Regions from separate parts of the Homo sapiens genome. Here region 2 is linked to region 1. The links are contacts of gene promoters, found by promoter capture Hi-C in blood cells and fetal thymus (Javierre and others, 2016). All regions are on one chromosome and are shown on one strand. The core of a region is centred on a gene start or on the middle of the fragment in contact, and the rest is flanking DNA. Distances in the headings are between cores, read along the strand shown.

The links. Contacts are between HindIII fragments. The CHiCAGO score rates a contact against its expected background, and 5 or more counts as called.
Region 2: a contact is called between a fragment that was not itself captured here and the fragment with the promoter of ALAD in region 1, in 2 of 17 cell types (erythroblasts and M2 macrophages). The highest score is 6.0, in erythroblasts.

The regions. Positions count from the first base shown.
Region 1 is chr9:113,397,164-113,402,879 of GRCh38, forward strand. ALAD (aminolevulinate dehydratase) reads right to left here and starts at 4,121. Exons shown (of 12, transcript NM_000031.6): 1 at 4,049-4,121. RefSeq lists an enhancer at 3,277-3,857 and silencers at 3,873-3,922, 4,073-4,432. The HindIII fragment of the contact is 5,410 bases long and covers 1,457-5,716 here.
Region 2 is chr9:113,255,422-113,261,025 of GRCh38, forward strand. It overlaps SLC31A1 (solute carrier family 31 member 1), which reads left to right. Exons shown (of 5, transcript NM_001859.4): 2 at 693-856; 3 at 1,692-1,764; 4 at 3,273-3,441; 5 at 4,851-5,604. The coding sequence starts at 728. The coding sequence ends at 5,052. LOC107987119 (a long non-coding RNA gene) reads right to left here and starts at 1,182. Exons shown (of 3, transcript XR_007061737.1): 1 at 1,034-1,182. The HindIII fragment of the contact is 4,617 bases long and covers 1,620-5,604 here.

The sequences.
Region 1 (5,716 bases), core at 2,871-5,370:
TAATTTGCTTCCCAGAAAACCACCTTTGTAACAGGTCCTTGGCTTCTGGAATCCAAAGCTGCATTCCCGTGGCCTCAACTCCTCATTGCTTTCAGGAGGCTGAGGGAACAACTGCCTCCTGCTTATCAGAAACAGTGGGGCAGGGCTGCCTAGGAACTGGCTGCCCTTCTCCCCATAGTCTCTTAGGCCCCTTTAGCTGCCTTCAGCCATCTCAGGGGCCCATTTTATCCAGTCTTCCTCCTTGGTAGGGTGGGGTTATCACAAGTCACACAGGGGCCAGCCCTGCTGCCACACCCCTGGGTGGGCCAGCCCCATCACCTAACACAGGGGCAGGCCAGGCCTCCCCAGTCATGTCTCAACCTCCAAACAGACAATTATTCAGTAGATATGAGGTCCCAGCTGCCCATTTCGTACTCGATTTTGCTCTCATGTCTGCCAGGAGTTTTTTTTCCTTTTCTTTTTTTTTTTTTTTTTTTTTTGAGACAGAGTCTGGCTCTGTCACCCAAGCTGGAGTGCAGTGGTTCGATCTCGGCTCACTGCAACCTCCACCTCCTGGGTTCAAGTGATTCTCCTGCCTCAGCCTCCCAAATAGATGGGACTACAGGCATGCATGACCATGCTTGGCTAATTTTTGTATTTTTAGTAGAGACAGGGTTTCGCCATGTTGGCCAGGCTGGTCTCAAACTCCTGACTTCAAGTGATCCGCCCGCCTCTGCCTCCCAAAGTGCTGGGATTACAGGCGTGAGCCACCGCACCTGGCCGAGAGAATATTTTTGCATATTGAGAGAATTACCAAAATGTAAGCCAGTTGCCCAAGACCACATAGCTACTTAGTGACTGAGCCAGAATTTGAATTTGTTCTGGACTCCAAATGCTGGGTTTTATATACTGTATTTCATAATACTGATAAACACCTGATTCAGTAGGCGTCTCTCTGCCCATACTGTTTCTGCTTTGGGTGCTGGAGAGACAGAAGAAACAAAAGAAAAACATACTGAGTGTATTCGTTCTGTGCTGGGCACAGCACTGAAGTACTTGGTAGTAGTATCTCATTTCATTGCAAGAATTGTCCTAACTTTTAGTGATAAGGAAACAGAGGCTCTGAGCGGTTCAGTGACTTGCTTAATGCCATTCTAGAGTCTAGTCAGATGTTGAAGAGAGGTCTAATCTCTCTGACTCACTTCCCACAAACAATCTCTGTTGTTTTCTGGCTTCTGAATCCAAAGCTGCATTCCACTGGCCTCAACTCCCCATCGCTTTTAGGAGGCTGAGGGAACAACTGGCTCCTGCTTAGCAGAAACCCTGGGGCAGGACTGCCTAGGAGCCTGAGACCGGGGCAGGGTTAGAGTAAAGGGAACAGTCTCACTACAGCAGTCCACTTTGATCTGTTTTTGAATTTTAAGATTCAGAGACAGATTTGATTTGAGAAACGGCTGTCAGTGCTGAAAATATTAAAAGCTTGAAAATTGCCAATCCTGTTTAATCCCTTACACTTTAATGTGGAAAATGGGGTATAAAGAGGCAACGGGACTTTTGGAGATCACAGTGAGTGACATACAGAGCTATAAACTGACCCTGCAGCTCCTGGCTTCTATTTCAGTGCCCTGATACCTACACCATAGAGTCATTCCATTGTAAGAGGTACTTAATAAGTGGAGTTTCCCACTCCATTCTGTGAGTGGGAAAACACCCCCTGAATCACATATTGGCAGAGCCAAATGCAGGGTGGGTTTTGCTTTGCAAAAAGGCCCTTAGAGTTTGGGAGAATTTCACAGACTGGGAGGGCACTTCTCCCAAATCAAGCGAGCTTGCAAACCACAATTTAAATGCCTGTGACATTACCACACTGAAGACAGGAGCGAGCCGCCAGGAGGTCCAGCACCTCTGCCCAACCACATCAGACAGGTTAGCTTTGCTGGGACGCAGAGTATAGGGCGGTGCAGAAAGATCCATGTTTCAGGGTCAGACAGTCCCAGGTTTGGTCTATGCTCTGCTGTGTAATTTTGGGCAAAGTAATTGACCTTTCAGTGTTCATTTCATAATCTACAAAATAGGCATGATATCTCTAACTTGCAAGGCTGTGGAGATTATTGATAGGGATAAGGTAGGTGTCTGGCACCAAGTAGCTGCACAGTAAACATGTAGCTACTTTTATTACTATTAGGAGTGGGGCTGGGTTGGAACGAGATGTCCTGGCACAGCTCTGTGCCTTCTGCACCTCACCAGATGGGAATATGAGCTCAAACCCTTGTGGGCCACAGGGTTTTCCAAGATTTCTGAAGTGGAGTCCCTGCCTTCCAGCAGGTTATGTGGTGGAGGAAAAACAAAATAATCACCACCGGGCTGCCAGAGTAGAGGGGTGGACCAGGTGCTGTCAGAGGGACTGTGTCTCTGAGTCAAGGGTGGTTTCATGGAAGAGGGGACAGTGAAGGATAAGAAGTGTTTCAGATTTAATATGAAAGTATCTCCTCCCATGGAAGGCAACATCCCCAAACTGGGAGTAACTGAAGTTGGGCCCTGAGCACTGCTACCAGGAGGGGCTATGAGCTTCATGTGCCACCCCCCACCCCTGCAAGTTGTACTATGCTGAGGATTCCAGAGGCTGTGGGTCTTCGCACAGAGGCTTAGGACCTGCTGCCAGCCCTGGCAGGCTCTGCCACTGGCCAGGGAGGAGGCAGTCAGGAGAGCCAGCTAGATAGAAGGTGGCCAGAACTGAGAAATCCAAAGCCCCACAAAGGCCCAGGAGAGCAGCTGTCATGCAGTTCTGAAAAGAGATGAAGTGTTTATTCAGCCAACCCACATTTCTTGAATATCTACTATGGGCCTGCTGAAGTGCTAGACACAGGGATTAAAGAGAAGAATGAGACCCCAGCCTTGCCCTGGGGCTTTGAAGAGCCTGATCGCCTCTGGGGTTAGCCATTTAGACGTAGGAGAAGCTGCCATTCCCAGAATCCTAGAATATCTTGGCTAAGAGTCTTCTTAAAGTTTGCTGATTGTATCACTGAAACAAGGGTGAAACTGGGCTCAGAGAGGGGTAGACACAGGCCCAGGATCACGCAGTGGGTCAGCGGCAGATCTGGGGGAAGGTCTCCAGCAGCCCAGTCCTCAGTGCCCACCATGACACCTCCATACTTTAAGGATAGATATCAAATCTGTTTCCCAGCAGGTTGGGCTTGTGGAGAGCTTTGGGTGAGCCAGACTCTGGGCCTGGCTGCTGTTGGTAGCAGGATGGTTAAGTATGTGGGCTCTGGAGTCTGATAGATGTGGGTACAAATCCTAGTTCTGTAGCTTTCTAGTTGTGTGACCTCAGTTTCTTCGTTTAGTAAATGGGGACTAGAACCGACCTCAATGGGTTGTTGTAAGAAATGAATGGGTCAGGCCGGGCGTGGTGGCTCACGCCTGTAATCCCAGCACTTTGGGAGGCCGAGGTGGGCGAATCACCTGAGCTCGGGAGTTCGAGACTAGCCTGACCAACAGGGAGAAACCCCATCTCTACTAAAAATACAAAAATTAGCAGGCGTGGTGGCACACGCCTGTAATCCCAGCTAGTTGGCAGGCTGAGGCAGGAGAATCGCTTGAACCCGGGAGGCGGAGGTTGCAGTGAGCTGAGATCGCGCCATTGCACTCCAGCCTGGGCAACAAGAGCGAAACTCCGTCTCAAAAATAAATAAATAAATAAAATAAATGAATGGTCAATGCACGCAACGCTTAGTACAAAACGGCTGTTATTGTTTTCACCTCCCTACCCCCCCACCAACCACCACCCGCACCTCGGGTTCTGCATCGATGGAGTCTGCCCAGGCGGTATCCGAGAGGGTGAACCCCAGAGAAGAGGTGCGGAGCCCCGAACCCGGGCCCCCAACCTCGGCTGCAGCGGGATAATCCAGCCCAAACAAACGCTCCACGGGACTCCGTGCACGGCTGCACCGCCAGGGCTTCAGGCGCACAGCACAATCTGGGGACGCAGGACTCTTGGTGCCACAGTCCCCGCCTCGCCCTGGAGCCGCCCTCCAGGCCCGCTATCTCCCCGCATCCAGCCCCCGCTCACCTGCCTCCCTAAGGGCTCCCGGCCGCTGCTCCTGTCACCGCTGTCTCCCGCTCCGGTCTCCCACAGACCGCGTAAGAGCGGGGGGGGCTCACCCGGAAGCAGCTTCCCCACGGTCCGCCCCCTCCACAGTCCAGGCCACGCCCCCTGAAGGCGGTCTTCTGGGGGGCTCCTCCGCTCCAGCCGCGGCCCCGCCCACACGCAACGAGGCCTGGCCAATTGGGTGTGTCGAGGGCCTGGAGGGCCCGCCCGTCCCCGCTCCGGGCCCTGCGCTTGTGCAGCGAACTGCAGGAGGGAGGCCACGAGGGGGCGCAGGAACCGCTTGGGAGGGTCCCTGGGTGTGAGCCGGCCTCGGAGGCGGTTACAGCCCAGGTTTCACTTCACAGCATTCCTTTGCCCAGCCTAGGGCAAACTTGGCTCTGGTTAATGGCTTGGTGAAAGAATAATTGGATGTCAAAGCCGTTAAAACAGCACCATTATGCCTAACACAGTATTAGCTAAGTCCATTTTTGCGGACTAAGCTAAAGTTGTTGAGTTCAGCGCCAGGCTTCCAAGTTTTCAGAGAAAATTTGTACCAGCTTCATTTATTTCTCAGGGTACGGCAATGCTATGAGTTGAGAGATGTGATGTGAAAGACATGGGCGTTTAGGAAAACTCCAAGTCTTGATAGGGGCATCAGACCTATGATAGGTACAATGATAGATCCGATCAAAGGTCTTTATGGAGATTGGAGATGTGCAGAGGCAAGAGGGATCTGGTGAGGCTTATGGGGCCTGGGTAAACCAGTAGGATTGGATGAGTAAAATGGCGATCGGGCATCATCGCCCTAGCGAAGCAATGCCTTTCAGGTGGTTCTTCAGGGATTATTGAAAAGTTGACTTTCAAATGTAGAGGACACTAGTGGGTTACATTACACTTATTCTCAGATTTTATTTCTCAGCCCGGTTCGGTGGCTCACGCCTGTAATCCCAGCACTTTGGGAGGCCAAGGCGGGCGGATCTCTTGAGGTCAGGAGTTCAAGACCAGCCTGACCAACATGGTGAAACCCTGTCTCTACTAAAAATACAAAAAATTAGCCGGGCGTGGTGGCGGGCTCCTGTAATCCCAGCTACTCGGGAGGCTGAGGCAGGAGAATCGCTTGAACCCGGGAGGCGGAGGTTGTAATGGGCTGAGATCATGCCACTGCATTCCAGCCTGGGTGACAGAGGGAGACTCTGTCTCAAAAAAAAATTTTTTTTTAAATTTCTCAAAATCTGTACCCCAAACCTGTTGTATACTTTATATTTTAAATTTAAGGGGCCTAGCGGCGTAAGGCTAGGGAAATATGACACTGCTTAGTTTCCAGCTACTGGAGTTCTGATCTGTATTCAACAAGGAAGGGGATAGAAAGCAAATAATGTTTGCTGTGCATTAAAGAGTCAGGGACAGTACCATGCATTTTACATTCATTTATCTAATCTTGACAGCAACGATGTTACTATTCTCACTTTACGGATTGGGAAAACAATTGCCAGCTAGATTAAATAATTTGCCCCATGTTACACTGGGCTCTCTCTGCAATGCCTGCTAATAACCACACTCCATAGGGGCAATTATTATTTGTTTTTTCCTAGATTCCCTGCCCGACATTTCTTTCCTGACACTCATTCCTTCCCTGAGGTTATTGGTAAC
Region 2 (5,604 bases), core at 2,678-5,177, 140 kb before region 1:
AGGAACTATACTGGTGGGGCACAGTGGCTTACACCTGTAATCCCAACACTTTGGGAGGCCAAGGCAAGAGGATTGCTTGAGCTCAGGAGTTCGAGACCTGCCTGGGCAACACGAGACCTCATCTGTACGATAAAACAAAAAATTAGCTGAGCGTGGTAGTGGTGCAGGCCTGTGATTCCACCTACTCAGGAGGCTGAGGTTGAGGCTGTGGTGAGTTGCACTCCAGCCTGGGTGATGGAGCAAGACCCTGTCTCAAAAAAAAAGGAACAATTCTGCAGAATAAGGAAGGGTTAGGCATCTGTAGCCCTACGTGTAAACCCTTTCTGCTACAGTCTCCAAAAGTGATCCCTATTAGCACGAGTTCTTTCTCTCTCCATCTGTAGATTATGAAAAATAATTCTGAGTAAAGATGCTAGGAGAGCATTCATTTATTAGATGCATTCCATATAGACAAAGTATTTACCAAGAAACAAGCCCAGGAGCAGGGAACCACCAGGTTGCCTGGTGAACCAGCCTAGATCAGAAATGGAGCAGGTCAAAACTCCTGTACTGATCAGTAGTGGGATCATGCCTGTGAATAGCCATTGCATTCCAGCCTGGGCAACATAGCAAGATTCCATCTCTAAAAATAAAAAAAAGAGATAAGATTTTTATATCCTTAAATTATTATATATAATTCTTTCTCTTAAAAGAATCTTCTGCTGACTCTCAACTTTTCCTGGAAAAAATGGATCATTCCCACCATATGGGGATGAGCTATATGGACTCCAACAGTACCATGCAACCTTCTCACCATCACCCAACCACTTCAGCCTCACACTCCCATGGTGGAGGAGACAGCAGCATGATGATGATGGTGAGTGCCATAGGAGGGGCAATGCAGGCCCTTTCCCACCCACTTGGGTAATAGAAATAATGGAATTTTAGTACTGGAAGCTTATTATCTTTAAAGGTCAGTTTACCAGTGAGGATAACTAAAGCAGACCCAAGCAAGTCAAGTCATTTGCTCCAGATTATGTGGCAAGCTACTTACAGAGTCACACCAGAACCAAGATTTTAGGCTTCTTTCTTTGGTGGTCCCTTCTGAAATCGACTCTTTTCTGAATTAGGGGTTCTGGTCTTTATGCCTTGGGTGGAAAAGAGAAAAAGACAAAAGTTGGCCAGGCACAGTGGCTCATGCCTGTAATCCCAACACTTTGGGAGGCCAAGGCAGGTGGATCACAAGGTCAGGAGATCGAGACCATCCTAGCTAACACGGTGAAACCCCATCTCTACTAAAAATACAAAAAATTAGCTGGGCATGATGGCATTCGCCTGTAGTCCCAGCTACTTGGGAGGCTGAGGCAGGAGAATCGCTTGAACCCAGGAGGTGGAGGTTGTAGTGAGCCGAGATCTCGCCACTGCATTCCAGCCTGGGCTACAGAGCGAGAATCCGTATCAAAAAAAAAAAAAAAAAAGATAAAAGTTGATGGTGGGGGCCCAGGAGAAAAGTTGATGGTGGGGGCCTAGTAGAATACTCATGCTCGGTGCCTGTGGTGGTAACGCTAACATGAGGGCAAAAGCCTCCCACTCACGTGAATGTCTCTTATTATCCAGATCTTCTACTTTTAAATGTTCTAAGCTTCTTTGCCCCAAATTCTCATTTAGAATTTTCATTCATCTCTAACTGACTTGTTTTGGTTTTCTGGCAGCCTATGACCTTCTACTTTGGCTTTAAGAATGTGGAACTACTGTTTTCCGGTTTGGTGATCAATACAGCTGGAGGTGAGTAAGCCATTAGGTAGTGTTGGAAGGTGATAGTCACATGAGAGACAGTGACAAATAATTTGGAAGTCCAGCACCTCTTTCTGTCCTAATTACTAAGTCAACATGGTAATGATGCATAACCATCTTGGTTCCTATTTCCTACCTAGAAGGTAGGAAACACAGTACTTTTTTGGTCCTCTGGTAAACCTCTGTTAACTAACATGTATGTTTTGGAGCTCTAAAAAATAATTTAGATACCAGATAGAATCTTTTGCAATCCATTTTCTTTCATTCTTTTCCAGAGTGTTTAATTTTTTTTTTTTTTTTTTTTTTTGAGACGGAGTTTCACTCTTGTCACCCAGGCTGGAGTGCAATGGCAGCTATCTTGGCTCACTGCAATCTCTGCCTCCCAGGTTCAAGCGATTCTCCTGCCTCAGCCTCCTGAGTAGCTGGAGTTAAACAGGCACCTACCGCCATGCCTGGCTAATTTTTGTATTTTTAATAGAGACGGGGTTTTGCCATGTTTGCCAGGCTGGTCTCGAACTCCTCACCTCAAGTGATCCACCCACCTCAGCCTCCCAAAGTGCTGGGATTACAGGCATGAGCCACCATGCCCGGCCTCAGAGTGTTTACTTATTTGATAAGTTATTAGTCCTGGACATAAGACTAACTCAAATTAAGTACCACAAAATAAGTTTAAAACTATTGTTCTAATACTTCAATTTTACAATAAATTAAGTGCCACAAATTGTGAAATGACTCGCCATCAATCATAGAGTTAATATGTCAGAGCTAGGACAAGGACCCAGACCTTCTAGAGCTACCTAGACCAGTGTTCTTTTAGTCTACCAAACTATGGCCCACATCCTTCCTGATTCTTGGCACGGCCCATCTTAGACACTCCTAGTTTTGAGGTAGATGATTACCCATCTGTTTGTGTCTATTATGTTGTATGGTATACTTTAAATTTAACTTGCGCAAACTCAATAGTCAGTTGGACTGCCTTAGGTACCAGATGTCTGTTTGGAGCCATAAAATCAATTTGTTTTGGGAAGAAGGAGAGCATTTAGTTCAGGTAATGTGTTAAATTAGCAGTTTGAATACATTTATATCATTACCAACACTTCACAGTGTGAAAGACTTAGAATTGAAATGCCTATTCAGGAAATGTAGTCAGCCACTGATGAAACTAAATTGTTTTATTCCCTGTTCCATATTCTACATTGTGTGTTTCAGTGTAACAAACCTAATTTAATGATATCAAGCAGTCTGACCAAAAGGTTATTGTTGTTCTGATTATTTTTCTTATCTTAATCAGAAAGTAAATATGTTCTTGGCAGAGGCAATAGTTTTCAGTTACACCATCTTAGCCGTTCTCCTATCTGAGCAAGAGAAGAGGTAAAAATATAATGTCTTCAAAAGCTGAGAGTAGCATTTTTTCTATGTGTCTTTCTAGCTGGACAGCACATTGGCTAATGATTTTGCACATGTTTGACAGTACCTCCATATTTTCCTTCCATACTTAGAAATGGCTGGAGCTTTTGTGGCAGTGTTTTTACTAGCAATGTTCTATGAAGGACTCAAGATAGCCCGAGAGAGCCTGCTGCGTAAGTCACAAGTCAGCATTCGCTACAATTCCATGCCTGTCCCAGGACCAAATGGAACCATCCTTATGGAGACACACAAAACTGTTGGGTAAGAACTGAACAGATCCAGATGAAGTCCTAAAGAACTCGATCAGTTAAGCAGCAAAGCGCAGCTGTGTGATCAGCAGCAGCCCTCTTCTTGAGTTAGGAGTTCTGTATGACCTTGATCAAAACTGTCCTTGGAGGTTTGGGTTTGTAGGTCATGAGCAGGCCAAAGGAGGAATGAGAGGGAGTCTTCTGCAAATATGAATGTTTGTTCTGAGTTGTACGGATTGGCCACTTTGGAAGAAGGGAAGTGAGGAATCCATATTTTAAAATATTTACCAAAATAATAATGAACAAGTTAAGAAATTCAGATCAAGATATAAAAGAATGGCAGATTGCAGTTGATTCTATAAAGTTACACCTAGTCAGCCCTGTCCTCTTTTTCTTTACAATGTAAGACTGTATTGATTTCTGTGTTCTGTCTAAGAAAGTATTTGGATGATTATTGGTTTTTCCCATAGATTGGCAAATGTTTTTTGAGATTGTTTTAATAAAAATGTAAGTCTTAAAACCAAATTGGACCTTAAGAAATCCTATAGACTGATATCCTGCTTTCAAACAAGCAGTGTTATTTATTGTACTGATGAGCTTACTGGGGCCCAGAAGGATTGTGACCTACCTAAGGTGGCACAGGGGATGAGTAGCCAGGTCTCCTTATCCCTAATTAAGTAATTTCTTCTATACTACCCAACCCTCAATTCTATTTTTTTTTCTTTTTTTCTTTCTTTTTTTTTTTTTTTTCTGGAGACAGGGTCTCCCTCTATTGCCCAGGCTGAAGTGCAGTGGCACTATCTTGGCTCACTGCAATCTCTGCCTTCCAGACTCAAGTGATCCTCCCACCTCAGCCTCCTAAGTAGCTGGAACTACAGGCATGAGCCACCACACCCAGCTAATTTTTTTTATTTTTTGTAGAGACAAGGTTTCGCCATGTTGCCCAGGCTGGTCTGAAACTCCTGAGCTCAAGCAATCAGCCCACCTCGGCCTCCCAAAGTGCTGGGATTAAAGGCATTAGCCACCACCCCCAGCCTCTGTTTCTGTTTTTGTAGAATGTAAACTTTGCAAAGGTGGGAAGCCTAAAAATATTCGGGCAGATGAGCGTGAGAGGGTTTACGGCTTCCCTTTCAGGATCTAAGGTGGAGGTAAGTCGGGATTACTCCTCGTCCTTTTCTCCTCCTCCGGAAAAGGGTTCCTTCTACTGGAGGAACCACAGCCATATCTGGCCAATGTTTATAAGCCTGACAGCCCTGTGCTGTTTCATTTCCATGGACCAATCAAAGAACATTCAAGTACCCATGAGTTGCCAGAGTGGCTGTCCAGTTCCAGCTGAGCTCATGGCAAGAACTCTTCCCTCTTTCTCCTGATCTGCAGAACTCCTAGGAGTCCCTGATTGTTGTGTCCCTGTTTACTCTCCAGGCAACAGATGCTGAGCTTTCCTCACCTCCTGCAAACAGTGCTGCACATCATCCAGGTGGTCATAAGCTACTTCCTCATGCTCATCTTCATGACCTACAACGGGTACCTCTGCATTGCAGTAGCAGCAGGGGCCGGTACAGGATACTTCCTCTTCAGCTGGAAGAAGGCAGTGGTAGTGGATATCACAGAGCATTGCCATTGACATCAAACTCTATGGCGTGGCCTTATCGATTGCAGTGGGAAGTTGTTGAAGACTTGAAGACGTGATTCCTGCTCCAATCATCCCTTCTTGCTCCTCTTTGTGCACGTACACACACACACACACACACACACACACACACCCCTGCTCAACAGAGGTTTAGTTTACAGTCTCTGAACTAAAGTAGTAACCTCCCAAATTGTTTTTTCTAATAAGCTGAGATTCCCATTTCTCTTAAGGAGAAGCCACCCATGAGATGTCTTTTCCTTCTCCATCATCTTAGAGCCAAGTTATATGTTCTTGTCTAATCCATGTAGCTTTTTGTTCAATGACTTGATCATCTGCTTCCTTTTTGAATTTTTAACAGATAGTAAGTAAATTTGGTGGTTTTTTCCCCTGGGTCAGTGATGGAAAGGGGTTAACTTCAGCCAGGATTGATGGCAGCTGAGGGAAATTCTTGCCCAACTAAACCCAGAACTCAAACTTAACATTAGAAAATAAGGTCCAGGGCCGGACACAGTGGCCCATGCCTGTAATCCCAGCACTTTGGGGGGC